4 separate regions of the Homo sapiens genome follow, and all the other regions are linked to region 4. Evidence: promoter capture Hi-C in 16 types of primary human blood cells and fetal thymus (Javierre and others, 2016). All regions are on one chromosome and are shown on one strand. Each heading gives the region's core, a stretch centred on a gene start or on the middle of the fragment in contact. The rest is flanking DNA. Distances are from core to core; before and after follow the strand shown.

Region 1 (2,941 bases), core at 265-2,764, 550 kb after region 4:
GCGGGTGGATCACGAGGTCAGGAGATCAAGACCATCCTGGCTAACACGGTGCAAACCCGTCTCTGTTAAAAATACAAAAAATTAGCCGGGTGTGGTGGCGGGCGCCTGTAGTCCCAGCTACTTGGGAGGCTGAGGCAGGAGAATGGCGTGAACCCAGGAGGCGGAGCTTGCAGTGAGCCGAGATCGCGCCACTGCACTCTAGCCTGGGCGACAGAGAGAGGCTCTATCTCAAAAAAAAAAAAAAAAAAAAAGGAAAACATTAGTGAAAATTAATTCAAAACATACACAAACTTTAGAGAATACTGCCAGACCAGGCTGTTAGATGACCACAGAGTACCTGTGCACTCTAGTTAGAAGTGACTGTAGTAGATATTGTTGGTGCTCTGCCCTCGGGTCTATTTTCTGTGTTTCTGTGGGCCCTTTTCCCCTCCCCATCCTATGGTATTTTACTTCCAATGGCCTGTACTTGTGATTCTCTTTCAGGGAACTGCTCAGGGGCTACTGGAACCACTTTGCCCACATGCATAGAAAGCCATATGTGCCCACGGTTTATGTCCTCCAGTTCCCCAGGGCAGCCCGCACCCAATGACTGATTGCTGTGGGCATATGAAAGCCCAGATCCCTTGCCTTAAAGCTAGAACATTACTCTAAGGAGTAATGTACATTCCAGATCTCATGACAGGTTAACACTGAGGTTGGTATTTTGCCTGAAATCGCACCCCTACTTGGCCTCCTTCCCTTCCCAGGCCAGCTTCCCACACCCCTATAAGCTTCCCCAGGGAGCCTGTCCTTAACACTTCACTTGTGTACACATTCTCAACTCACGATCTGCTTTGGGAAAACCTACCTAGGAGACTCTCTGTCCTCCTTTGCTCTCCCCCAAATTCTTGTCCTTATGCACATCACATTCCATGCTGATGGCTTCCATCTGTGACACCTGTTTTCGGTCTGGTAACCAAGGCCTTATATAAGACATGTGTTAAAACATGACCATATAGTTTGTCATCCAATTCAAGACACTTTGCTCACGAAAGAGGATGCTATTAATAATTTTGCTCAGCAAAATGTATATCTACCACCCTCATTGCAGGGCTTCAAGTTATGCAATAAGTCACATTGGAGCCTGTGAATGGTGCCAGAGTATAAATCTAAAATACAGATCTTAGAATGGACAGGGATACAGACTGAGCCACAGGAAAGTTTGTTGACCTTTTTCAGTGTTTTTGAGCTCTGAATATTACTAGAGGCCATTGTATCTTTCTAAGAGGTATTTGCAGCAAGTGAGGGTTGGAAATGTCAATAGACAAACCTAGGAAGTTGAAGAGAACCTGACTCAGAAGCAGCTATGCCCCTCTGAGAATCACTCACTGGGAGTATCCACACTGTGCACCATCTTGGACAGAGCATCCTAGACATGAAGAAAGAGTTGGCCCTGCAAGCTCTTAAAATCCTTCCATACCAGCCCCATCTGACACCTTAACTCCCACTTAGGAAGCATACTCACGATTTTCACAGCGCTGCCCAGTATAGCCTGCCAAGCAGGCACACTTGTAAGATCCAGCCTTGTCAAGGACGCACGTGCCGTCATGGAAACAAGGGGATGAGGAGCATGCTGTAAGAGAAAAGGCATCCTTCAGTGCCACTATACATTGAGTCGATGTCTTCAGGCCCAGAGTCTTGACCAAAGTCTTTTAATTCCTTATTAAAGTCTTCTTGCAATGTTTTTTCTTCCCTTTACTGAATTCATGTTATGATTATTTGAAAATGCCTAAAATAGATACTCATTAAATATCAAATGTTGGTGATATTATTTGATGTTTTTGAGGGCCCCAGAAGTATGCTTAACGCTCCTATAGTCTGAAGACCACAAGGCAATGCAAACAAGAACATTAAATTGATGAAAGCAGAGCCATGCTTGTATCTCTCCCATAGGGGTTTCAGCGGACAGAGACATCCTTGGGTAGCTGAAGACCATCTTTTTTCAAATAAAAGCTCACCATCCTGGGTACTGGGGCAATGCAACTGGAAGACAATCATTATGACACTGTTGAAGGTATATTCAATAATTTCCAAACTTACATTCTGTAATCATTAGTCCCTTGAGATGTTGATGTGTTTTACTAAGGGTTCTGAGCTCAAATATGTTAGGGAAATGTTGCTGACATTCAATGCTAATTAACCAGATTTCTTTACTGCAGAACTTCTCAGTTCAATGCCCCAATATACATTGTGAGTTTCCTAATATACATTGTGAATTTCAAGCTTATTTGACCTCAAAGCCTGCATTTTACAAGGCATCCTGGGGACTATTTTTCTACAGAAAAGATTTTGAGAAACATTCATCTGTGTGTTATCCATCAATCCTACATTCATTTATCCCAATGTAGAAGTATATTCCTTGGCTCAGTTCAACAAACCTGTCTTGAGTACTTGCTCAAAACATGACAAGGGAGAAATACAAGGAAGAACAGGATGTCCTATTTACCAGATTAAAACTACTTGAAGAAAAATATAAAACGACTATGACTTGAAGCATAATATAGTTAGTGTATTACGAAGAAAGAAGAGGCAATGCTACAAGACATTCAAAAAAGGGCAAAGCCATAGCTTGTTGGAGCAAGAGAAAAGATTTAGGAGAGGAGGAAGAATGTAGTAGGGGCTATGAAGGATGGATTTTGATGTGCAGGTTGCAGACAGGTGACTTTAGCCAGAGGAAATATCTTGAAGGCAAGTGAACAAACAGGGATGTTTGAAAAATGGGAAGTGGTATTATTTGACGGCATTGATAAAACACAGGCCAGTATTGCCAAAGTTCTCCAGGGGAGGTTGAGGAGGTCATTTCAGAGGAGCAAGACATTCTCCTGACCGTCCCTCAGTCCCAGATTCACAGACTGGCCAGCCACTGCTGCCCCTACCTGGCTTGCTGACTGTCCTAAGCCCC
Region 2 (2,945 bases), core at 243-2,742, 810 kb before region 4:
CATATTCAACATCTTGATATGAATTTCTCAATATTCCAAGTCAACTCCTTGATTACCCAACACCAGTTGTTCATTCATCCAGTTGCTCAGAGCAAATGTTTTGGGTGCCATCTTCAATGTACTTTTATAACCTGCATCTAATCCTTAAGTGAGTCCACGTGGTTCTAACTTGAATATCCAGAGTTATCTTATACTTCTAACTACTACCACAACTACCATCCTAGCACAGGTGACTACAATAGCTTATAATTGTTCTCCTTTTTCTACTTTTGCCTTCCTGTGATTTAGTTTTTGCATAACAGGAAGCCTTTTAAGAGGGCAAAGCAGATTTTCTCATTTCCCTGTCCCCCACAAACTCCAGTGGTTTCTCATCATGACTAGAATTAAATTCTAAATCTGGTCCTTCACTTGCCCACTGCTTTGGCCACACTGACTGCTTTGCCAGGACTCCCCCATCTTGGAGCTTTTGTATGTACATCTTTGGCACGGGGAAGTTTTTCACTCATATTCTCAGGGCTCATTCTTTCTAAATTTCAGGTCCTTGTTCCATCCAGTGTCACCCCGTCAGAGGCCTTCAGTGTTCGTTTCTAAAATAGTATCCTTAGTCACTTTACTCACTGGATACTTCTGCTTAATAGCATTTAAAACTTAACCTAGAATTAACCACGAGGGGCAGGAACATTTTGGACACTATCCCTTGTGAGCAGAATAGTGCGTGGGCATATTCACATTTTGCTGAATGAACTAAAAAATTTCATGATGGATGTTGGATTAAATGGGTAGTGCTGCTGATGACATTAAAAGTGTATCTGGGGAAGGGGTTTGGATTCAGACATTTGCGGTATCCAGGAGGAAACATCAAGCAGTTGATAATGTTTTTTGAAGTTCAGCGATCTGCCCCAAAGTCAAGAATGCAACACTATGTATAGGTTGTCCCTGTAGTCATGTTCTTGGAGTTCACTGGAAGCCCAGGGGGAGTAATTTCATTTGACGACCATATACAGGCCTAATGGGAGCCTGCAAAGTACAGCGGCCGCAGTCATGGGTAGATTACAGGATTCCCATCTGTAAGATCAGTACTGTGGGGGTGGAGGGCCAAGCGAAACCAATAAAATAGGTCTGTTGGCCGAGTTTCCTCAACTTAACGGGGATCGGTTAAATTGAACACAAATCGTTGGATCCGTCGCGTTTCGCGTAACCAGGCTGACGCTGAAAACCCTGGACCTACGTGGGCAGGCCCTGGGGTGCGGACATCTATTTTGCCCTTCTTAGCCGAGGTACTTTAGCTGGGATATGAAGAGTGAAGAGGCAAACCGCAGCCAACACCCAGCTACCGCGAGCAGTGGGACTAAAATGCGCAACCGCAGTGGACATCTAGGCCTCAGCTCCGCTTCTGGTGGCTTACGTCATTACTCAGCGACAGCCTTGAGGAAGGTCCCTTCTCGCTCGCCATCTCTGCGACTTTAATGCGCTTGCGCACGTGCTGTCTACCAGTTCCTGAGAGGGACGCGTGCCGCGGAGCCAGGCTTACTACGTGACCCGGACACCAGGCATACGCTAGGGGCAGTCAGCTGTGCCTTCTCTTTCGGAGTTGTTCCGTGCTCCCACGTGCTTCCCCTTCTCCACTGGCTGGGATCCCCCGGGCTCGGGGCGCAGGTACCCAACGCGGGAGGGCCGGGTATGGATGCCAAGATCGGTGTCTGTGTTCTTCCTGGGTCGAGAGGGGACCGGCCTCAGGATGAAGGCTCTGCATCCGGACGGATACCTGGCCTACGCCGTTTGTCCTCCACCCCTCTTTTGGGGCGCTCCAAGATAACAGAATCACCTCTCCAATACGCAGCCGCTCTCGGCGCGTGCTTCTCGAGCGTCCTCGGGGATTTGCGTGGCTCGATAACCACCTCTAAGTAGTGCCTGTAACTGGGGAGTCGGGGTGAATGGGTGGGTGACAACAGTTGTTTTCCGTGGAGCTTGCCCGCAGTGCCTGGCTGCAGGTCTGGGCATTATACTTAGGGTAATCTGATTCCAGATCCTTCCACGTTCTTAAATCCTTCACTGTGCACATTCCTTTATACTCTTTATTCAGCAGTCACATTCAGGACTTGGTTTTGTTTGCCAGTGCACCTAAAATGGTGCCTGCCACATAGATGTTATGTGTAGATAGACGAATGAGTGAGCGAAAAATAATCATCTCCTTCAAGGCCTTCCCCATCCAGGCCTTCCATGACAGCTTCAGCCCATAGTAATCTCAGCCCTTCCTTCATCTGACCGGTCCCTCAGTATAGCTATTTTTTTTTTTTTTACATCTAATTTTACCTGTGTTCTTGTTCCTCATCTCATTCTCTTAAATACCTTCTTCAAGAAGAATGCAAGCTTGAAGTCAAGGGCCTTGTGGTACTACTTCTGGGGCTCCCACAGTAGCTAGAGCAAAAGGCAGCCCCCATTAATTAGTTGTTGATTGATTTTTGCGGGATCTTTATGTGGCCGGCAACACAAGGTTTACAAGTTGGGAAGATTGGCGAACTGGGAAGAGCTCAGGCTTTGGAGTCAGGAAGACTTGAGTGTGAATTCTGTCTGTCGTTTTTCTGCCTCGGGATATTTGAATTCTTTATACTTTCTCCTTTACGTATAAATTGGGGTCCTTGACAGTGACTTAGTGTTTTATAGTAAGACATATGCTAAAATCTGTTTGGATTGGAAGGTTAGAAGGGACAGTTAAGGTATGGTAAGTTTCAGTAAATGAGCTTTATGTTTATAATGCAGTAGGTACCAGAGTTTCTAAGTAGCATGTCACTTTTACATCTAAGTAGCATGTTACTTTTACAGTGATATTTCTGATGGTTTTTTTGATGTATTTATTGGGATGATGCAGTATTTTACTGTAGGTAATCACAGAACTTTTTTTTTTTTTTTTTTGAGACGGAGTCTCACTCTGTCGCCTAGGCTGG
Region 3 (2,700 bases), core at 126-2,625, 520 kb after region 4:
GTGGATAGATGGAGAGATGGATGGATGGATGGATGGATGGATGGATGGATGGATGGATAGACGGATGGATGGATCGATGGCTGGATGGATGGATAGATGGAGGGATGGAGGGATGGATGGATGGATGGATGGATGAGGGGATGGATAGATGGAGGGATGGATGAAAAGATAGATGGATAGACAGATGGGTGGGGGAATAAAAGACAGGGAGGGAGTCAGGGAAAGACAGACATATATTGTAAATTTGTTAAGAGTATATCTAGGGTAAAACATCTCTGTCTACCTAGGACAGTGCCCAAATGTAATAGGTGATTAACCTTTTTTTATTCAAAAAGTATTTATTGATAATCTACTTTGAGCCAGGCACTGTGCCACACTGTGAGGGTACAATGACAAATCACAACATTCATGGAGCTAACGGTTTCAGGCAGAGCCAGCCATTAAACAAATAATTTCACTAATTTTTAATTTGTTAATTTATGACATATCCTACCAGGTAACATGTGCTACTAGGAGAAGTACATTTTACTCTTAGGTGATTAACTTTTGATGACCACAGTGATAGATGCCTTTGCCTCTATCTTATTTAAAAAATAATCAAGGTGGAAAAAAGACTCCACAGCCTTTCTAGGTACCCCCATCTAGTATCTCAATATGAAATAATGAACGCTGCTATATGCGAGGCTCTGGGCTGGCTGCTGACATGCTAAGGGGACAGAGCTTGGTATAATCACTGCTCTCCCGTGCTTGGAGTTTTTTTGAGCCAGAGCCCCAGCTTCCAAGTGCAAGCCCTCTCTTACCTGTAGGCTCTGGATGGTCTTCTCATCCCGGTCATCATCCCGGTAGAATTTCCCCAAAACAACTTTCAGGTCTGCTGTCTTGATCATGGTGACCTTCCCCAGGTCAGTAACACAGTGGGCAGCCACCACCACAGTGCGCTCATTCACCAGGGCACCGCTGCAGACTAGGAACCACGCTCCCTTGTGTAGGCTGCCGTCATGCACCCCGCTGGTCCTCCTGTAGATGGCTGCCTGCCACGGCCAGCGCAACCCTTGGGTCTTTGGAGCAGTGATGTTCTCAATTTTCCCGCAGACTATGGAGAAAGTACCAGCTTAGTAAGATAAACTCAGACTTTGCCATCCAAAGGAGAATGTGTCACTTAACCAGAGAGCACAAATCTGGAAAGGTGAACTGTATGGGCATGATGACCACTAAGATAAGTAACCCAGTTTTCTTCTGCATTTAAATATTAATCAACCCACCCTGACATGGCTGGCTATAAAGTCTAGGATTTGCAGTCAAATGAAACCTGAGTTCTGATCCCAGGCACTTACTATCAATAGAACTTTGGGCAAGTTGTCTAATCTTTTAGAGCCTCTGTCTTCTTGCCTGTAAAATGGATAGAACAATAATAATGGTCTCACAGAGCTCTTGAGGAGATTAAATGAGATGGTACATGCAAACAAACTCAAAATATCATGACTATCCTCATAGTCATGACCACAATGAACTAAATCATATTGTTCTCCTTTCGCAAAGAGGATGGGGAAGGCAGCTTAGTAAATGCAGGCCCCTAATCCGGACACTTTGACATATTATCTCAGTACTCATCATCATAACCTTATGATGTAATTAATACCTCATTACATTTTTTATTTTTATTTTTTTATATTTTCAGTAGAGATGGGGTTTCACCATGTTGGCCAGGCTGGTCTCGAGCTCCTGACCTCAAATGACCCACCCACCTTGGGCTCCCAAAATGCTGAGATTACAGGCATGAGCCACCGGTGCCCAATCTAATACCTCATTGCTTAATAACAAGTACCTAATTAGTATCACTGGGTGATGAGTGTAAAAATTGGGGCTTAAACAGGGTAGCCAAGATTATATAACTTGAGGCCCTCTGGCACCTTTAACCCCTTTCCCCACTTGGTGACTTAATGACCATTTTTTCCAAGTAAATATGATAGAATCACCCAAGAACGCATGCCTCTAAGATTTAGTGAGTCAATTTCTCCTGGGTAGTAAGGTTAAGCCAAAGGAAAAAAAAAGCTCTAACTATGGAATTTCAGATATCACCAAACTAGAGAAAGCACTGGAGATGCTCTCCCAAAAAGTAGGGTTAATGGTTTTTCTCAGGCAGTCATGAAAGATTGAGCATGCTCAAGCCCAAGAATGAGCCTTGACTCACTAGGGATGCAGGATGGTGCCCGCCCACTCCACTTCCCAGTCCTCAGACATGTCCTCCTGCTGCTGCCCAGGCGGCGGTAGAAGGGTGAGATGCACTCATACTGGAGCTGGGTATGCAGATGTTGGTATCCCATGGGCAGATCTCCAAAGGGAAGGGCTGGCTTCTTGGTAGGGGCACTCTGCAGTTTCTGCTTGCTGAAGGCCGCTGAGTATAGCTGGTGTAATGGTGTCTCCCTGGGTCAGGAAACATGGGCCCAGAGAAAGAGCAGGGTGAGAGAAAGTCACTGTGGCCTCTTTAGCATTCATGCCATGTCCCATGTAGATATTTGTTTACAGAAACAGAAAAAATCTCTGTCTCTGTCTCTCTCTATCTCTCTCTCTGTCTGTCTGCCTTTTGAGGCAGGGTCTCCCTCTGTCCCTCACTCCAGGATGGAGTGTAGTGATGCGATCTTGGCTCACTGCAACCTCCACCTCCTGGGTTCAAGCAATTCTTGTGCCTCAGCCTCCTGA
Region 4 (2,851 bases), core at 329-2,828:
CGAGACCAGCCTGGCCAACATGGTGAAACCCAGTCTCTACTAAAAATACAAAAATTAACTGGGTGTGGTGACATGCGCCTGTAATCCCAGCTACTTGGGAGGCTGAGGCAGGAAAATCGCTTGAACCAAGGAGGCAGAAGTTGCAGTGAGCTGAGATCACGCCACTGCACTCCAGCCTGGGCAACAAGAGCAAAACGTGTCAAAAAAAAAAAAAAAAAAAAAAAAAGGTTGGCTCAAATTTTTCATGAACATTGAGTGCAGCAAAAAAAAAACATGCCTGTCCACCAAGCTGTCTGTGGGCCATGTTTGGTTTGAGAATCCTAGTTTATTCTCGGGTCCCTTAAGGCTCTCTTTGATGCTCATTCTGATGACATTACACTAAGATTTACTGATTGAGGGTACGGACACTTCTCCATACACACTTGCCCAGGAACGATCTCCAGTTACCTGTCCTGTCTCCAAGATCTTCTCTCTCTCATCCAATCTTGCCTATGCAGCATTCTATTTTCAGAGTCGTCTTTGCTAATTTGGGGAAGTCACTTATTCAAACAAGAAAGTGGTTGACAAATGTTTAGCAATGAAATCTCCCGCGAGTTACTACTTTTTAATTAGGATTTTCAACCCTAAGAAAGATATAGATAGGAGGAATAAGATAGGGGGAATAAGGAAACTAATTTTGAGGGGTTTCCCTGCCTCTTAGGTGGGGTTTATCATATTGTGCTGAAACTGCTTATTCGTCTAGTTCTCCAGACCCTGGGCCATTTATCTTACGTATCCCTATCTCTGAGCGTGTAGAAGGCGCTCCATAAAACTGTTGGTTTGTGTAAATGACCGAAAACTACATGCAGCGTGAGGGTGGATTTCCCTTTGACTTCGGCTTAAGGAAGAATCGTTCCCATGATCATCCCACAATTCATCTAAACGGAGATAGGCAAGGAGCAACTGCTCAAAGGCAAAGCGCTGGCAGCTGAGGCACAGCTCCGGTTCGGCAAACGTCTCCCGAGTGCCAAACGTCCCCCCAAACGCCTAACTGGTCGTCAGGGCGCAGAAAAGAAGCTTGGGGGGCGCGGTCTTCGCCCCAGCTCCACTTCGGTGCTTCACGATTCCTTCTCTGGCCTGCCTTCCTGATAAATACCCGGTGAGGTCACCTAAACGCTCTCCTCTCTCAGTTATTTGCTTCTTTCCAACGTTTGGCGCCCAGCTCCCGCCATCGGAGCGCCCCGCCCGAGACCACTGATCTCCTGGGGCCTCGCAGCCTTGCTTCCGAACGCCAAGGTCGCGGTGCGCCGGGGTAGCGAACGGCCAGGCCCGAAACCCCGCCCCGCAGCTAAACGCCCGGCCCGCTACCCTGCGCCCAGCTCCAGCCGCCGGGTCCCGCCTGGGCCTCTCCTCCTGGGAATACCGGGCACCGGTGGCCCCGCCCCTACCTGCGCGCCGCATCTCCGGGAACAACAGTCTCCCTCCCGAGCATCACAGCCAGACATGGCCCAGACCAGGGACCCGCGCGGCCTCCAATCTCCGCACGGCTTTGCGCGCGGCGCTTAGCCTGGGATACGGCAGCGAGGCCGCAAATGCAATCAGGCGGCGCTGAGGGCAGCCCGGGGGCGGGGCGAACGGGGCGGGGGCCGGGGTCTGGTAAGGCCCCGCCGGCTGAGATATCCAGCGGCGCACCTGACTTCCCGGGAGGCAAGGCCAACGTGGTTGGAGGCGGGGCTGGGTTGGGGGGCGGGGGTTCAAGTCTGAGAGACCTAAAGGCACCGCTAGCGTCTGGGGGCGTGGCCAACCATGCGGGAGGCGGGGCCTTGATGCTGGACATCAGGCTGTGCTGCGGGCAGCCAGTGAGAAGGCCGTCAAGATGGCGGCCTCCTGGAGGCTGGGCTGTGATCCGCGGCTGCTGCGTTATCTTGTGGGCTTCCCCGGCCGCCGAAGCGTAGGGCTGGTGAAGGGGGCTCTTGGGTGGTCTGTAAGCCGCGGAGCTAATTGGAGATGGTTTCACAGCACGCAGTGGCTTCGGGGTGAGTGGCCGGGGCTCGCTCAGCTTCTCTGTGTAGCTGAGTGATGGGCCTGGGACAGGGGCAGTTATGATTGAGGGCCTGCTTTTGGGTGTGAAGGTGCGCGGGCTCCTTATTCCCTTTCCTCTTTCTCCGGTTGGGGTCCGCCGACTTGGCCTAATGCATGCTGTGAAGGGCTTTCTTGGCAGCTGAGAGAACTCGACTCTGCCCTAGGCCCCCTGGTTTGTATGGCTTTGTGACCTTGCCTTGGAATTTGGGTTATTTGTGAGGCGCAGAGAGGGTTCCCAAACTCTCCTCCCTCAGCCCCCTTTCCAATCAAGGCTCAGGTTTCTTTAGGGTTGTCAAACGTCTCGGACGAGAAAAAGCTGCCCAAGGTTGCCGAGATTGAAAAGCCACTGTTGGGAGTTCTTACTTATTCTCTAGGCCTCTCTCTGTTAGGAGGTGTTTTCATTGAGGCCAGTCGAGTTTTACCCCACGCCATGACTCGTGGAAGACTTAAATTTGTAAATTCCTACGGCATCACGATAGACAAAGGTCCAGGAGAATGTTTCAAGCAAATATTCGCTTGAAAGAGCAAACATTTAGGAGATAAATCATACCAAAAATTTATTATAGAAAATTGTTGTTTAGTAATGATATTGATGCAGTTAACACAATTCTTGCAGTATTTAACAGTATGCAAAATGGCAGGCCGGGTATTATTTTTCCTTATTTTGGGAGAAGGTTGGAGGGAGGCGGGGATGGAGAATAGGACTGACGTTTTTTAGTGTGACGTATTACCTGCCAATCATCGTTCCTGGCACTCTACAGAATGAATTTTAATTTAAATAGGTCTAGTA

Evidence for each region. The method cuts DNA at HindIII sites, captures the fragments that hold promoters and counts their contacts. A CHiCAGO score of 5 or more calls a contact.
Region 1: a fragment that was not itself captured here is called in contact with the fragment with the promoter of APIP in region 4 in 6 of 17 cell types (M0 macrophages, total CD4 T cells, naive CD4 T cells and 3 more); the score reaches 6.4 in M0 macrophages.
Region 2: a contact is called between the fragment with the promoter of NAT10 here and the fragment with the promoter of APIP in region 4, in 6 of 17 cell types (neutrophils, non-activated CD4 T cells, naive CD4 T cells and 3 more). The highest score is 9.7, in neutrophils.
Region 3: a contact is called between a fragment that was not itself captured here and the fragment with the promoter of APIP in region 4, in 4 of 17 cell types (total CD4 T cells, naive CD4 T cells, naive B cells and 1 more). The highest score is 6.0, in total CD4 T cells.

The regions. Positions count from the first base shown.
Region 1 is chr11:35,466,497-35,469,437 of GRCh38, forward strand. It overlaps PAMR1 (peptidase domain containing associated with muscle regeneration 1), which reads right to left. Exons shown (of 11, transcript NM_001001991.3): 6 at 1,505-1,612. Among named protein-coding and RNA genes, the nearest start is that of SLC1A2, 48 kb to the left of the region's middle. The HindIII fragment of the contact is 1,492 bases long and covers 769-2,260 here.
Region 2 is chr11:34,104,137-34,107,081 of GRCh38, forward strand. NAT10 (N-acetyltransferase 10) reads left to right here and starts at 1,493. Exons shown (of 29, transcript NM_024662.3): 1 at 1,493-1,656. RefSeq lists an enhancer at 1,246-1,705. The HindIII fragment of the contact is 3,708 bases long and covers 1-2,368 here.
Region 3 is chr11:35,433,712-35,436,411 of GRCh38, forward strand. PAMR1 (peptidase domain containing associated with muscle regeneration 1) reads right to left here. Exons shown (of 11, transcript NM_001001991.3): 9 at 2,192-2,424; 10 at 801-1,093. Among named protein-coding and RNA genes, the nearest start is that of SLC1A2, 16 kb to the left of the region's middle. The HindIII fragment of the contact is 9,496 bases long and covers 1-2,700 here.
Region 4 is chr11:34,914,801-34,917,651 of GRCh38, forward strand. It overlaps APIP (APAF1 interacting protein), which reads right to left and starts at 1,579. Exons shown (of 7, transcript NM_015957.4): 1 at 1,428-1,579. The coding sequence starts at 1,484. PDHX (pyruvate dehydrogenase complex component X) reads left to right here and starts at 1,818. Exons shown (of 11, transcript NM_003477.3): 1 at 1,818-2,015. The coding sequence starts at 1,856. RefSeq lists silencers at 1,240-1,579, 1,600-1,649 and an enhancer at 1,820-2,119. The HindIII fragment of the contact is 9,412 bases long and covers 1,055-2,851 here.